Linked DNA regions of Homo sapiens: region 2 is linked to region 1. The links are contacts of gene promoters, found by promoter capture Hi-C in human tissues and cell types (Jung and others, 2019). All regions are on one chromosome and are shown on one strand. The core of a region is centred on a gene start or on the middle of the fragment in contact, and the rest is flanking DNA. Distances in the headings are between cores, read along the strand shown.

Region 1 (2,920 bases), core at 200-2,699:
TTTATTATGATGTGGGCCGATTCACCACAACAATAATTTAATTGAGGCGAATTTTTGCAAGAGCCCAAAAGGGTGGGGGGGGGGGGGGAGTTTAAAATTAAGAGTTTCCCAATGCTGTGCGTTTATTTGGGATTCTGAAAGCACAGAACCCGCAAGCGACCAAGACTTTTCTTCTATCCCAGAGCAGATAGCTCCGCACTTACCCAACCTGGCTCTAAGCATTTCGTGTAAACACAAAGGTTGTGCTCAAATCACACTTGAAATACATGAGAGACACCACCAATGCCTCCCCCAGAACTCCCAACTACATGCAGGTCTGAACCGACCGGACTAGAGTCAGAAGCACCGGCGCTTCACCCCTTCAGGTGTTTCGTAAATGCCAGCAAAAGCAGGCAAGCAGCATGACTCCGCCAGAGTGGAGCGTTTTGTCTGCGGTGGTGCCCATTTGTTTGGTCTTTTACAAACCAAGTGACCGGCCTGGGCCTCGCGGCCCGGGACAGCCGCATTGGCAAACTTCTATCTCTCAAAGCCAGAGCAGTTAGCAAACTCTCCCCCAGACAGGGCGACTCGGCTGACGTTTTTGACCCGGCCAGGAGGCAAAGACCAAAACGTCAGAGCAGTAGCCCTGTTACTGAGGAGCGTCGGCAGGGTCGCGGGTAGAGGGGGCTGGAGAATGACTTGTCAGAGCTCAAGGTCGATGTGGCGCGGGGCGGCCTCGAGAGCGCCGGGCTCCTGCGTGGCCACGGCCGCCGCTGCCAACCTTCGCGGGGACTTAGCTTTGCTTTCCATTGACTCCCTTTGCAAAAGCGCAGCAGAATCCTGACCAGCCGCACCAGCCCCGGCGAACCCGAGCATGTTAATCTATTTATATGGATTATTACGGAGGAACAGCGGGCGTTGAGTCACCAAAACATTTGCTTCAAAAGACTATTTCTAAGCACTTTTGCAGGCAGGCAGGCTCGCTCCAGGCGCGTAAACTCGGCTACGCATTAAGAAGCGGCTGCTTTTCGAATACTGCAAACTCCAGCTAAGTCCCCGGTGCCGCGGAGAGAGCAGTGAAAAGAAATGTCGGAGGTGGGGGTAGATCCTAGTCTAGACACACACACTTGCGCGCACACACACACACACACACACAAGATTCGCGCGGAGAAGGCACTAAAATTCTGGCATTCCGAGAGTACGACAAACTTACACACTTGGAAGTCCCGGGTCCCCCGCCTTCCCCGCAGCACCCCCCGCCCCCCCACCCTACCGTCCGCCCTTTGGCTGCGATCCCCTCCCCTCTCCTCCCCTCCCGCCTCGTCACCCAGCCCAGTGCCACAATCCTCCTCCCTCCCCAAAATCGGGTCCAATCAGCTGCCTGCCAACCCTGGGACTGCTGTGCTGTGATTGGCGGGTGGCTCTAAGGTGAGGCGGAGTATTTATTAAAGAGACCCTGGGCTGGGAGTTGGAGAGCCGAAAGCGGAGCTCGAAACTGACTGGAAACTTCAGTGGCGCGGAGACTCGCCAGTTTCAACCCCGGAAACTTTTCTTTGCAGGAGGAGAAGAGAAGGGGTGCAAGCGCCCCCACTTTTGCTCTTTTTCCTCCCCTCCTCCTCCTCTCCAATTCGCCTCCCCCCACTTGGAGCGGGCAGCTGTGAACTGGCCACCCCGCGCCTTCCTAAGTGCTCGCCGCGGTAGCCGGCCGACGCGCCAGCTTCCCCGGGAGCCGCTTGCTCCGCATCCGGGCAGCCGAGGGGAGAGGAGCCCGCGCCTCGAGTCCCCGAGCCGCCGCGGCTTCTCGCCTTTCCCGGCCACCAGCCCCCTGCCCCGGGCCCGCGTATGAATCTCCTGGACCCCTTCATGAAGATGACCGACGAGCAGGAGAAGGGCCTGTCCGGCGCCCCCAGCCCCACCATGTCCGAGGACTCCGCGGGCTCGCCCTGCCCGTCGGGCTCCGGCTCGGACACCGAGAACACGCGGCCCCAGGAGAACACGTTCCCCAAGGGCGAGCCCGATCTGAAGAAGGAGAGCGAGGAGGACAAGTTCCCCGTGTGCATCCGCGAGGCGGTCAGCCAGGTGCTCAAAGGCTACGACTGGACGCTGGTGCCCATGCCGGTGCGCGTCAACGGCTCCAGCAAGAACAAGCCGCACGTCAAGCGGCCCATGAACGCCTTCATGGTGTGGGCGCAGGCGGCGCGCAGGAAGCTCGCGGACCAGTACCCGCACTTGCACAACGCCGAGCTCAGCAAGACGCTGGGCAAGCTCTGGAGGTAGGACCCGGCGGGGGCGGCGCGGCAGGGTGGGCATCGCGGCGGCTGGGGGCGCTGGTCAGGGCTGATTTGCCCCGCCCCGCCTCCCATCGCCCGGGAGTTGCCGTTCCGGGAGCCGGCGGGATGGGGTTGGGAGTGGGAATGGGGTGTAACTGTGGCTCAGAGTTTGACAAAGTTCTTGGGCTGCTCGCGGGGACGCGGAGGAGGGGGGTGGTAAGTGGAAGAGGTGAGGGAGGTAGCTGGAGGATGGACGAAGACTGGTGGGAGACGGAAGGAGGGGGCTGCCAGCCTGCTCTCCAGTCGCCTGGAAGCTCAATCGGGGCGGGGAAGTGAAACTTGCCTCCCTCCTACCCGGCCTCTTAAAACTGCACTCTCTCGTGCAGCCCCACTGTCCACGGAGATGGGGCAAGGGAGAAACCGAGGTTGGAGGAGACCCTTGGCAGGAACTGGGAGGCGGGAGGAGGGAGGCTACTGGAAATAGGTGGGAGTGTATGGTGGGGGGTGAGAATTGGGGACCTTCTTGCAGCTTAAGTAATTTGGGGGAAAGTTTTCAAAGGGGGTTGGGGTTGGGGGCGGTAAGTCGAGCAGCAAAGGCGTTTAGGGGGCAGCACCGGGAGTCGTTTTCATCTCCAGCGTTTCCAAAATAGAAATAGAAGGGGAGGGGAGGG
Region 2 (3,238 bases), core at 315-2,814, 200 kb before region 1:
CAGAACATTCTCATTGACTGCTTAAGTAAACCACATCACCAGATGACTACACCAACCCCACCTAACCCAACACTGCTGTATGCTGAAATAAAACACAAGCCAGAATAAGTGTCTGAACCACATACTTCCTGGGTGCCTACTGTTCTAAGCACTATGCTGGCTGCTGGGCGAATAAAAGCTGGTAAACAAGAGAGGCATGATCATTGGTTTTACAGATTTTTCATCTAGAGAGTGAGAAAGTCATTCAGGAAATAGTCATCCAAATGTGTCAAGTACTGTGAAGGGCAAGTGCTGGGTATCGTGACATCATAAAGTGGAAGGACCTAATTTAGGTAAGGTAGAAAGGGGAAAGATATCAGCAAAGGTCTGAACTTGTTACAAAAACCTTATTTTCCATTGCACACTCAAAATCTCACAAAAGTGACATAAAAGACAATCTGAGTGAGCAAAGGAGTGAGGGTTGATTGATTCATTGGAGTTTTAATTTTTATCTTGTTTGAAAGTACCTTTTTTTTTTTTTCTCCAGGTAAATGGGATACAGGATTCCACTGAGAAAACAGAATCAACAAGAGAGAGTAGACAGAGGCTTTCTGAACTGGAAGTCAACATGAGGCAGCTACCATAAAGCCATGGAGTAACTATCAGTGAGTTTCTGCCATCAGGTGGGAAGAATTCTCTTTGCTTATGTCATGGTGAAGGGATATCAGGTGACTGAAGCAGAAATTCACCCAGAAGCCCTGAAGCTGGAGGCACATGCTTTCAGTCTTTATTGCAATTCTCAGGAGCCCACATCCTGTTTTCTCCCAGGCTCTGAACTCATCTGCATAGTCAGAATGTTCCTTCCAGCTCTGGGTCTCTGTGCTGGGTTGGGAACTATTTTAATAGCCCCTTGATGCCTCATAGGTTTACTATGAATGGCATTGTGCAAGAGGGGCCCAGCTCCTGGTGTCTGTTAAATTATACTACTATTTTGCACCTTGAATTTCCATACACAGAGCAAAATGTAAAGCCCTCAGTCCTTCTTACCTATAGAAGAACCAAGACTAGGACTCAGGCTTCCTGATTCCTTGCCGGAATCCTTGCTAAAGCGTTTATTTTTGTATCTGTGGGTAGCAAGGGGAAAAAGGTACCTTATCTTTTCCAGATTTGAGGTTTGTAAAATATTATGTGCCCTTGTCTAAATTGCAGTGTCACTTTCTACAGTATATTTGTATTATTAAAAATTGATCAAGTTAAATGACTGGTAAAATACGTGGTATAGCACCAAACAATTGCCGAGTGAGCTTAAATGCATTTCCAGTACCTGCTGTCACAAAATCTCCTGTGAGCATCAGGAAAATGCTAAGGTTTTATTTACCATAGTAAGAGTCATCTTAAACATATGCAAAATGCATTTAGCCTAATATAGGCTATAAGTGGATAACTGTTTAAACTAAATGTTTCATTTAACTGCCCTTATTAAGTGCTCTAAGAACACAGGATATAGAATCACAAATTGCAGACTTGGAAACGGTCATCCAGTCCAACCCCTTATCAGGTGTTTAAATGTCTCTAGTGATAGAGGTCTCACTACCTCCTAAACAGCCCATTAGGCAGCTTTGAATTTTAAAAGCTGCAATCCAGAAGAGCAATAAGAAAGAAAAAAAAAAGTCTCCAACTCGACTTCAATGTACAGAATAGACAAGTTACCAAGAATACAAAATGGCATTTTACCAGGATTGTTAAATGAAGAAATCATCTGTTAAATAAATAAAACATTGCCTTAAATGGGAGCAGAGATGATGTAGAGCTAATACACCAAGACGTTAGTTTAACAAATGTTTATTGAATATTTATTATATACCTAGCATGGCTGTAGGCATTAGGGATAAAATAATGAATAAAATGGACTATGTTCTGGTAGCTTGTAATAGAATAGGTTGTGTAAGGATGGTTTGTACAAGTAATGATAGTAAGCAGTTTTTGTGCTACATGCCAAGTTTCAAGTTTTGTTCTAAGCATTTTATGTATGTTTATGTATTTGAACTTCATGACGATCCTACTGAAAGGTACTCTTATTACCCTGTTGTACTCCTCTATATGAGAAGACTGGAGTTTTCCCCAAAGTCCTGAAACTAGCACATGAAGAGACCGTGTTGTTCATCCAGGCATCTTAGCTTCAAGCTTCATCTCTTAGTCATAGTGCTTGGCTGTCTTTTAGAAAAGGAGGGGAGGGCCAGGCGGGGTGGCTCACGCCTGTAATCACAGCACTTTGGGAGGCCGAGGCAGGCAAATCACCTGAGGTCAGCAGTTCGAGACCAGCCTGGCCAACATGGTGAAACCCTGTCTCTACTAAAAGTACAAAAGTTAGCTGGGCCTGGTGGCACGTGCCTGTAATCCCAGCTACTCGGGAGGCTGGGGCAGGAGAATTGCTTGAACCTGGGAGGCGGAGGTTGCAGTAAGCCCAGATTGGGCCACTGCACTCCAGTTCCAGCCTGGTGGATAGAGTGAGACACTGTCTCAAAAAAATTAAAAAGGAAAGGAGAGAGAGAGAGAAAGAAAAACAAAGAAAGAAGGAAAGAAAGAGAGAGAGAGGAAGGAAGGAGAAGGGGAAGGGGAAGAGGGAAAGGAGGGAGGGAGGAAGGAAGGAAAGAAAAGAAAAGAAAAGTAAAGAAAAGAAAAGAATAGAAAAGAGAAAAGAAAATAAAAGGAAAAGAAAAGAAAAGAGAGAGATGTTGCATGCGGTGGCTCACGCCTGTAATCCCAGCACTTTGGGAGGCAGAGGCGGGCGGATCACGAGGTCAGGAGATCGAGACCATCCTGGCTAACACAGTGAAACCCTGTTTCTACTAAAAATACGAAACATTAGGCGAGCATGGTGGCGGGCGCCTATAGTCCCAGCTACTCGGGAGGCTGAGGCAGGAGAATGGTGAGAACCCAGGAGGCAGAGCTTGCAGTGAGCCGAGATCGCACCACTGCACTCCAGCCTGGGCGACAGGGTGAGACTTGGGGAAAAAAAAAAAAAAGAAAGAAAGAAAGAAAGGGAGGGAGGAAGGAAAGGAAAGGAAAGGAAAGGAAAGGAAAGGAAAGGAAAGGAAAGGAAAGGAAAGGAAGAAAGAGAGAGAGAAAGAAAGAAAAGTAGGGGCGGGGGTGTTGTTTGATCAAAGGGGAACTACTGAGGCTGTGGGGTGGAGGCTTCCTGGAGGAAATAACCATGATGTATGACCTGATAGTCAAATAAGAGAAATAAATGAAGTTT

Evidence for each region. Contacts are between HindIII fragments. The study calls those that stand out against the background at their distance.
Region 2: a contact is called between a fragment that was not itself captured here and the fragment with the promoter of SOX9 in region 1, in 2 of the 25 tissues and cell types used here (dorsolateral prefrontal cortex and lymphoblastoid cells).

Annotation. Positions count from the first base shown.
Region 1 is chr17:72,119,571-72,122,490 of GRCh38, forward strand. It overlaps SOX9 (SRY-box transcription factor 9), which reads left to right and starts at 1,450. Exons shown (of 3, transcript NM_000346.4): 1 at 1,450-2,252. The coding sequence starts at 1,822. It also overlaps a transcript of SOX9-AS1 not described here. RefSeq lists an enhancer at 113-613, promoters at 715-1,482, 1,337-1,482 and silencers at 1,096-1,425, 2,336-2,435. The HindIII fragment of the contact is 7,134 bases long and covers 1-2,920 here.
Region 2 is chr17:71,921,823-71,925,060 of GRCh38, forward strand. No RefSeq gene overlaps it. Among named protein-coding and RNA genes, the nearest start is that of ROCR, 100 kb to the right of the region's middle. RefSeq lists a silencer at 30-159. The HindIII fragment of the contact is 4,555 bases long and covers 1-3,238 here.